2 separate regions of the Homo sapiens genome follow, and region 2 is linked to region 1. The links are contacts of gene promoters, found by promoter capture Hi-C in human tissues and cell types (Jung and others, 2019). All regions are on one chromosome and are shown on one strand. The core of a region is centred on a gene start or on the middle of the fragment in contact, and the rest is flanking DNA. Distances in the headings are between cores, read along the strand shown. Region 1 holds the start of VPS13D (vacuolar protein sorting 13 homolog D). Region 2 holds the start of TNFRSF8 (TNF receptor superfamily member 8).

Region 1 (4,742 bases), core at 1,344-3,843:
TACAAAAAGTCAACATGAGGGAAACTGAGACACAAAAGTTTAACTGGGTTCTGAGATTGCTCAACTAGAAGATCCCAGTGGAAACTGTGAGCCTCAAATCTTGTTCTGATCCACCATGTCAGTCATCAGCCACCCTGCCAGGCACTACAGACTTGCCATGGCACGCATCCCACTGGAGCCAGCCTACTTTCAGGATCCTCTCCAAGCACGCTGCCCCACCTCTAGTGATTCATCTTAGTGCCAGAAGATACACCTATCCCAACTGAGAGGCTGCCATCCAACAACTACCTGAAGCACAAGGCCTCCACAAGAATGAATTCAATCTCCTGGAAAAACTGGCTTTTGTTTGTCAACAATATCTTGTACTTCCAGAGAAGATTAACTTTTATTGGTCAACAGTGACAGCAAAAAGAAAAAAACAGCATTTGGTAAAATATTTGACCAATTTCTTTCCAAAGATTTTTTTTTCTGCAAATGGAATATAAAGATATTTTTTAAGGGTAGAGTTACATAAAACTAATTATTAGCTACATTTGTTTAAAGAAGATGTTATAAGAACAATTTTTTAAAAAAAATGCTCAACAGTCTGAATAAAAGAAACATTTCTCTATTGTAACTTTTTTTTCTGGAGACAGAGTGTTGCTCCCTCGCCCAGGCTGGAGTGCAGTGACGGGATCTCGGATCTCGGCTCACTGCAACCGCCATCTCCTGGGTTCAAGCGATTCTCCTACCTCTGCCTCCTGAGTAGCTGGGATTACAGGCACCTGCCACCATCCCCGGCTAAGTTTTGTATTTTTGGTAGAGACAGGGTTTCATCATGTTGGCCAGGCTGGTCTGAAATCCTGACCTTAAGCGATCTGCCCACTTTGGCCTCCCAAAGTGCTGGGATTACAGGCGTGAGCCACCGTGCCCGGCCACTATTATAACTTGAAAGGAGTAAATTTGTGAAAACCAAATGTGAAACTGACTAATCTTACTATGGGGACTCCAAACAAATTTGAGCAAGAAGCCAAGGTCAGAGTACTCTTTATTTTTGTAGTTATTGCCACTAATTTCGGCCCTAAATGCCAACTCTGAGTGCCAATTACCAATTATCTCCAAATCAAGGGAAACAACTGTCAGTTTGTAAACAAGTTCAGGCCCTACCCTACTTGCCCTAAACGGAAAAGAATGCAAAGCACAGATTTTAAAAGCATGAGTGATTAGCATTGTGAGGCAACCTGGTCAGTAACATTGAGGCCCAAACCAGAAAGCACCCATTATTTGCTCTGCTAAGCATCTAGACCGTGCTTGAGGCCACTTCAAGGATTCCCTGAAGGAATTCAGTGTCAGCAAGGGCCGCCAGACTGGCCAGAGTCCCAAAGTGTTTACACTCCGGTCCATCAGGACTTCTAGGCAGCTGCCTGGCACTGGCACTAACCCCCACCTGGGCTCCCCTACCCAGTGGGGCGGGTGACAGTAGGGATCAGTGCTGAGCCCACGGGCGGGCAGACAGCCGGGCATGACCTTGAGCCAGGCCCCTCCCCTGAGGAGCGGCCAGACCGGGAATAGGAAGGACTGGCAACCGGACCTGGGCGTCCCTCCCCGAGGCGGCCAGGGCTGAACGCTGCCGGCGCCAGGGAGCTCCAAAACCGGGGCGGGGACGGCTGTGCGACCGGTGGCCCCACAGGAACGGCACTGCCCGGAAGGCGACGCTCCCACAACCCTCCCGCCCCCAGCTCTCGGAACCCTCAGCCCCCTCCAGGGGACAGAGACCCCACCACCCAAGTAAAACCTGGAGGGAACGGCGCCGGGATCCCATACCTAGGAGGAGTGGCTGGGCCAGGGCGTGACCCTGGGGGGTAAAAGGTAAAGAGAGGTTTTAGGCCTGATGTCTGGCATCCCACACCTAGGAGGAGTGGCTGGGCCAGGGCGTGACCCTGGGGGGCAAAAGGTAAAGAGAGGTTTTAGGCCTGATGTCTCCACGCGAGAGTGTGACCTCGGGTGGCTGATTAAGGGAGGTGGCTAAGGCATTCTAGAGAACTGACACCCCACTCTTCGGCGTAATGTGGGGGGCTCGCACACTGGGGTCCTGCATTGAGACCAAGGCTCAGGCGGACAGGCGCGGACTGACACCCCCCAATTCCAGGGCGCCAGGCTGCTGGGACCCCGGAAAGTGTGCCGGGGTCCAGCGGGGGCTCGGGCTCCCCAGGACACGGACGTCGGGGTTCCCAGAGGTTCAGCCAGCCCCGAGCCTGTGCTTGGGGAGCTCGCGGGGACTCGGACGCAGGGGTCCCCGGAGGTGGCGGGCTTGGGGCCCGGGGGGAGCAGACGCCCAGGGTTACCCCGAGGGGCTCAGACCGAGGCCGGACGACGGGGCCCCCAGGCTCCTAGCATCGCTCTCCCCAGGGTGGGCCCGGGCCCCCATGTCCAGGCGGAGCCCTAGCGGCGGCCCGCGGGTCCGCGCCGGCCCTGCAGTTCCCGACCCTGGCCCCGCCCGGCACGGAGCCGCTCGGCCCCTACCTGTCGGTGTCCCGGGCCGCCCGCCCCAGCCCGGCGCTGCGCGGCGTTTCCTCCCCGCCGCTCCTCAATGGCGCAGGCCCGCGGCGCTCAGGCCGGCCCCGACCCGACCAATCGAGCGGCCGACGCGCCGGTGCCTGGCCAGCCGAGCGCCGAGTTATCGAGGAGGCGCCCCCTGGCGCCGGCGGCCGCTCCTGCAGTGGTGCGGGCCCCTCCAGGGTTCGCGGACACTGGGGCTTATTTTATAGGTGGGGAAATTGAGTCCCAGGGGAGGGCAGGGCCACAAATGACTCTGGTTCAGACAGCATGGGAACCCAGGATTCTTCCCACCTACAACCACCCTGCCTTCCATCCAAGCGAAAGGTGCGATTGGCCGTCCGTCTGGCCCACTCACCCACAGTCCGTTCCCCACTTCGCAGCCACAGGGGCCTGTTAATTCAGACCCTGCCCTTCCCTGCTTAAAACGGCGTCCCCACCGTACTTCAGTTAAAACCCACCTCCTTACAGAGCTGCCACCAAGGTCCCACTGGATCTGGTCCCTTCCCATTTCAGCCACTTTTTCCCCGGCCGACTCTGCCTCAGCATCCTTCAGTTTCTGCCCCAGGAACTGTACCTTTGCCGTTGTCTCTACCTAGGACCCTTCTCCTCAGACCAATAGAAACACAATGCCAGCCACATAGGCAATCCACATTTACTAGCTAGTACATTTTTTTTAAACGAAAAAGAAGAAAATGAACTTCATTTTAATATATTTAATCCAATATGTTCAAAATATGATCATCTCAACATGTCGCCAAAAGAAAAAATTACTAATACAATATGTTAACTTTTTTATAGTAAGTTTTTGAAATTCGGGTATATTTTACATTTACTGCGCATCTCAGTACAAACTAGCCAGAATTCCAGTGCTCAATACCCTCTTGTGGCCAATCCAGAGCTACAGAATAGCTCTGGATATTCGTATAGCTGACTCCCTCTGGCTTCAAATATTCCACTCAGAGAGGACTTGTGCCTATCTACGGTTCCATTATGAGCTGGGCACAGTGGCTCATGCCTGTAATCCCAGCACTTCAGGAGGCTGAGGCGGGCGGATCACTGAAGTCAGGAGTTTGAGACCAGCCTGGCCAACATAGTGAAACCCCATCTCTACTAAAACTACAAAAATTAGCCGGGCGTGGTAGTGCACACCTGTAGTCCCAGCTACTGGGGAAGCTGAGGCAGGAGAATCACTTGAACCCGGGAGGCGGAGGTTGCAGTCAGCCGAGATCACCCCTCTGCACTCCAGACAGAGTGAGACTCCCTCTCAAAAATGAAAATAAAAATAAAGTTCCATTATCCATTACCCTGTTGTATTTTATTCATGGAACCTAATACTCCCTGAGATTATCTTGTTTGTTTATACATATGTTGTTCTTTCCCCAGTACCTTGAAAACAGAGATTTTATCCCTTTCACAGTGTTTCTTCAACACCTAGACATTGCCTAGCACAGAAAAGACTCAATGAGTGTGTATGAATGAACAGCTGAACACTTCCTCCTTGCATTATCACAAGAAGGGCAAGAGGGAGACCTCAGGCTCATATAAATTAGAAGATGCAGGAAGCAGAACGGCAAGGTTACAATCATGTATTTACCATAATAATTACCAACCCTCATGATGCTAAGCTAATGAGGGTGCATGTTGGGCTGACTCACTCCTGAGCAAGACTGGGGTTCCTGTATGGTGGGATCAACCTCTCAGAATCTGGATGCTGGGTCTCCTCTGGGGCTGAGGTTTGGGAGTAAAACCTGGAACTCCACAGACAGAAGGAGGAAGGAAGGCAGTCCTTCAGAGGTGAAGGACCTCGAAGTCCAGATCACCTAGCACAGACAATTGGCTGTACCTGGGAAGCTTGTTAGAAATGCACATGGCCCAGGCCAGGCGCGGTGGCTCATGCCTGTAATCTCAGCACTTTGGGAGGCAGATGTGGGTGGATCACCTGAGGTCAGGAGTTCAGGACCAGCCTGACCAACTTGGCAAAACCCCATCTCTACTAAAAATACAAAAATTAGCCGGGCATGGTCACAGGTGCCTGTAATCCCAGCTACTCTCCTGGCTAAGGCAGGAGAATTGCTTGAACCCAGGAGGCAGAGGTTGCAGTGAGCCGAGATCTCGCCATTGCACTCCAGCCTCGGCAACAGAGCAAGACTCCATCTCAAAAAAAATCCAAAAAAATACTGCACATGGCCTGGCACCGTGGCTCA
Region 2 (5,020 bases), core at 630-3,129, 170 kb after region 1:
GAATCCGGGAGGCAGAGGTTGCAGTGAGCCGAGATCGAGCATTGCACTCCAGCATGGGCAACAAGAGTGAGACTCAGTCTCAAAAAAAAAAAAAAAAAAAAAAGGTTTGGTATGAGAGTTCAGGCTGTAGTGAGTTATGATCGCACTCCAGCCTGGACAACAGAGTGAGACCCTGTCTCTAACATTAAAAAAAGTGGAGGGGGCTTCACTCTACAGAAAGGAAGCACATGAGCTTCAGCTGCCAAACCAAACCAGCAAAGCCCCCCAAGCACCTCTCACATCTCTTCCTTCCCTTCATCTCCCCAAGACCTTGGCACTCCAAACTCTTACCTTCCCCCAGGTGAGGGCTTGCAGAGCTGGGACAGGGTGTCTCTAGCCAGGGCTTTGTCCCCTCTGCCCTCTTGGGGGGAAAGGGGGAATACCTCACATTGCCCATTGGAAATGGAAGAGGGCATAGTTCCTCCTTTGCTGCATAGTTCCTCCCTCCTGCCTAAAGCCCACTCTGCCACTCTCCTCCCACTGCCTAAGGTTCAGATGACTAGAATTGATCCATAGCATGGAGTCCTCTCTTCCTGTAGGATTAAAGGGGAACTGGGTCTTCCCTCTCCCCCACCGTGACCCACCGCTGGACTAACAGCCTGCTCCTTCCTTTCCCTCTGTATCATTCAGCAGGCATCCACTCGCACCTACTATGGTTCTATGCAGGGGTCCACCGGGGTCCTGGGTCAGCTGAGGGCCTCTCTCTCCAGCAGCCCCTGGGCTCCGTGAAACACGCCTGGTTACTTTGCATTCTCCCCACAGTGATTAATTTGGCGCTGGCCACTGGTAAGTGCTCAGTTTTCCTAAAGCAGTCCCCAAACTCAATTCTGAGGCAACCCACCATAGACTTCAGCCCCACCACTGACCTTCTTCCAGGGGCAAATGCCCACCACGTGCTCCAGCGAATTCAATCCACAGCGTTGCTTTGCCGGACGCGGATTGGGGAAGCTAATCCCGGTGGTCCTGCACCCTCACCCCACTCTCACCCACAGCCAACTCTCCCTCCTTTCCTTGACCCTCCAGCCAGTGGCCAGCTTAGGAAGGGGGCAAACGGGACCGCGCACACAACAGGGTAGAGCGCGGACGACCAACCTCCCATGGCTAAGGGAGGCCCCATCTGGCCTGCCCACTACTCCCACGGCCTCACCTGATCTGCCCAGGACCCCGACGGGCCCGCAGGTAGGCGGGCTAAAGAGCGCCTCCCGCGTATGGCAGTGCTCTCAGTCCAATTCACACTGAATGAATGAATCAGTCCCAGCCATCGCGGGGTGAGAAGGAGGCGCCCCCCACCACTAGCCCTTCAGCCAGCCTCCCACCTGTGGGTGCTAGCATATTCCGGTGTTCCTGCTTGTCACCCGCGCCCCCTCACTCCAGCTGGGCAGGGAACGGGGTGAGGAGTGTCCTCCCTTGCGTCCCACGCACCCCACACTGTCCGGGCTCTGGACCGCCGGCACCTCCCCAGGCGCCCGTCACCCGCTTACCTGTGGGAAGGCTCGTAGCGCCCCCAGGAACAGCAGTCCCAGCGCGGCGAGGAGGACGCGCATCCCCGGGGCCGGACGTGAGGTGGCCTGGCGGCCGGCGCCCACCTGGGAAGCGGGGGAAGCGCGCGGCGCCCACGTGCGGTCCCGGCGGTTCTCAGCCGCGCGCGTGGACTTCAGGCTCCAGCACACTCCCGCCGCGGCCACCTAGTCCGCACCCAACGCACGCCGCGAAGTCACTTCAAAAGTGGTTGTTCCTCCGAGGTTTCAGCCTTAGTTCTCCCGTATCAAATTGGTTCCAGGAACACTTAGCTACAAGCAGCGAAGAAAAAAGGGGGCAAACACGTGCAGAGATGACTCAGGAAAAGGCACACTAGGAGACGCCTCCCTTAGCTGTTTGAATGGCCCGCCCCGGATTTGACGGAACTAGTGGTCCTGGCTCTAGGGAGTGTGCTGCCCGCCGCACCTGGGCTGCGGGGAGCGGAGGCAGGCAGCTTCTGGCCCTGGAGGTGGGGACTCACAGGATATTAGGAGGCCCCAAGGGGGTTCCAATGCCCCCACCTCCACTCCTGCCCCAAGAAACGGTGAAATGTGAGTAGTTTCCTGTCCCTGACACGATCAGCCAGGACCTTCTCCCATGCCCTTGAGATTCTTTGGAAGGGACAACTGGCCTAGGGAGACTGCAGAAAAAGCAACCATCACCCACCCATCCCCATTCATAAGCATTTGCTGTAAAATGAATCAGTGAGTGGATGATAAATTGGTGGATGGATGGATGGATGGATGGATGCATAGGTGGATGGATGGATGGATGGATGGATGGATGGATGGATGGATGGATGCATAAGTGGATGGATGGATGGATGGATGGATGGATGGATGGATGGATGGATGCATAGGTGGATGGATGGATGGATGGATGGATGGATGGATGGATGGATGGATGCATAAGTGGATGGATGGATGGATGGATGGATGGATGCATAAGTGGATGGATGGATGGATGGATGGATGGGTGAGCAGCAGGTGAGTGGGTAAATGGGTGGGTGGATGGGTGGATGGATGGATGCATAGATGGATGGATGGATGGATGCATAGGTGGATGGATGGATGGATGGATGGATGGATGGATGCATAAGTGGATGGATGGATGGATGGATGGATGGATGGATGGATGGATGGATGGATGCATAGGTGGATGGATGGATGGATGGATGGATGGATGGATGGATGGATGCATAAGTGGATGGATGGATGCATAAGTGGATGGATGGATGGATGGATGGATGGATGGATGGATGGATGGGTGAGCAGCAGGTGAGTGGGTAAATGGGTGGGTGGATGGGTGGATGGATGGATGCATAGATGGATGGATGGATGGATGCATAGGTGGATGGATGGATGGATGGATGAGCAGCAGGTGAGTGGGTAAATGGGTGGGTGGATTGGTAGATGGATGGACTGAATGTTGGAGGAACTGATGGATGGTATAGATCATTTTATTTCCCTGAGGCCTGACCCTTTAGAGTTTTCTTCCTGGAGGAGGCGGCTGGCACTCTCTCCTAACAGAAATGATTCAAGCCTCCTCGTACTATGTTCTCATTTGCTGGTGAATGATTTTCCCTTCCAGTGCTTCCCCATCCCCTGGGTTTTCTCTTTGCTCCTTTTATTCCACATTCCGTGTGTCTGTGTTGAGCATCTGCTGGGTGGGCCACAGGTCAAGGGTTCTTTTGACTGATTTTGTTTGGTTTTCAGATGTGAAAGCCAAGGCTCAGAAATAGGCAGGCAGTCCTAGGTGCTCTAATTAAGGGTGGGCCAGTTATTTTCCCTGAGCCCAGAATAGCCTAAGGATACTCTGGCTTCTGTGTCTACCTTGATCTGTCCTGCGAGGTACCAGGCCTCCATCAGGTGAAGGCCCTATAGGGTAGGAGTGATAACCTCCCACCAGGAACTTCCCAGCAAGGTCTCCACAACTGACCACTCCATGCTCAACCCTCCTGGGGCTGCTGGACTCCACTTGGGAAAACTGCTCCATCATGCCCCTTCCCAAGAGACCCACTTCCAGACTCTCCTCTGGATGTACCAGGCCCAGTATCTTAGGCTGTTTGAGCTGGGACTATGTTAAACAATGAGGTAAGCAATTATGGAAGTGACCTGCCTGTGATAATGACAGAACCAGACAGGGACAGGAGGAACGCAAGACACCTGCTTCCCAGTCCAGAGCTTTCTACTACAAAAGTAGAAAAGCTGGCAGCTGGGTGACATGGCTCATATCTGTAATCCCAACACTTTGGGAGGCCGAGGTTGGAGGATCACTTGAGCCCAGTTTGAGACCAGCCCGGGTAACGTAGCAAGACCTCATCTCTATTTTTTGTTTAATTAAAAAAGAGAGAGAGAGAAGGGCTGGTGTTTTGAATAAATAAATGAACAACAGCATCAAAATAGCTTGCACAAGGAGAAATACAAATAAAAATCAATTACAAGTTTTATAAGTTTAACCTTTTTAGTAATTAAAGAAATGCAAATTCAAGCAACCTTTGATAACCTTTTAGATCTATACAATCATCATTTTTTTTTTTTTGCTTTATAAAAACAATTTTGGTAAATCCAACCCCAAAGTTGTGGTGAGACCAGAATACTCATTCATACTCTGCTGGTAAATGTTACAACCCTTTTCAGAAAGCAGTATGGCAATTTTTAGCAAAAGCCAAAAAAAAAAAAAAATGTGTACTACTTGTGAGTGGCTCAGTAATTTCACCTCAGTGAAGAAAAACTAAGGAAATAATTTAACTGGAAAACTAGAAAAAGAAAAAAGAAAACTATACAGTAACATTTCCTTATATATTATTTATAAATTTTTGAAATACTCTGAGATTCACAACAAGAAATGATTACGGAAATTGTGGTACATCCATTTAATGGAATATTGCACATCCATTAAAAAGGATAAATCTATAGATGTTGTGGAAACTTGTCTCTCCCTCATATCCTTCCCTCCATGGATTTCCAAAGAGACCTTTCTAGCACACACATCTCACCAAGACACTCCCCTGTAGAGAACCCTTGCGGAAGTATGGTGTGTGTTTTGGCAGAGGACCACGTAGAAAATTATATTATTCATTTAATGATAACAATAACAGCTACCTTTGAGTGCTTATTTTGTGCTAAGAGTTTTCAGGCATTGGTTTCTTGTATCCTCATGAAAACCCCATGAACAAGGTCCTACTTTTATGCCCATTCTGCAGGAAAGGAACCCCTGCAGTGGCTCCCCTGGGTCAGAGTCACCCAAATGCAAGGGTGCACAAGTCTGCTCACAGCCTGGCAGGGGCTGACTCCTCCCTTGTGCCTTTTTACTTCTCCTGGACCTATACTCCAGCCAAATGTGCAGCCTTCTCACCCCTGCCAGCCTTTGCCCACGCTGGCCTCCACCTGGGACGCACACAGACTCCTGATCATCTTCCTAACCTGTTCCAATGCCACCTCCTCCTTGTTGCTTTCCTGGC

Evidence for each region. The method cuts DNA at HindIII sites, captures the fragments that hold promoters and counts their contacts. A contact is called where the count stands out against the background at its distance.
Region 2: a contact is called between the fragment with the promoter of TNFRSF8 here and the fragment with the promoter of VPS13D in region 1, in 1 of the 25 tissues and cell types used here (stomach).

The regions. Positions count from the first base shown.
Region 1 is chr1:12,227,881-12,232,622 of GRCh38, reverse strand. It overlaps VPS13D (vacuolar protein sorting 13 homolog D), which reads right to left and starts at 2,593. Exons shown (of 70, transcript NM_015378.4): 1 at 2,503-2,593. RefSeq lists silencers at 2,534-2,702, 2,239-2,768 and an enhancer at 1,914-2,844. The HindIII fragment of the contact is 14,457 bases long and covers 1-4,742 here.
Region 2 is chr1:12,060,162-12,065,181 of GRCh38, reverse strand. It overlaps TNFRSF8 (TNF receptor superfamily member 8), which reads right to left and starts at 1,879. Exons shown (of 15, transcript NM_001243.5): 1 at 1,521-1,879. The coding sequence starts at 1,583. RefSeq lists silencers at 1,487-1,616, 2,204-2,436. The HindIII fragment of the contact is 14,330 bases long and covers 1-5,020 here.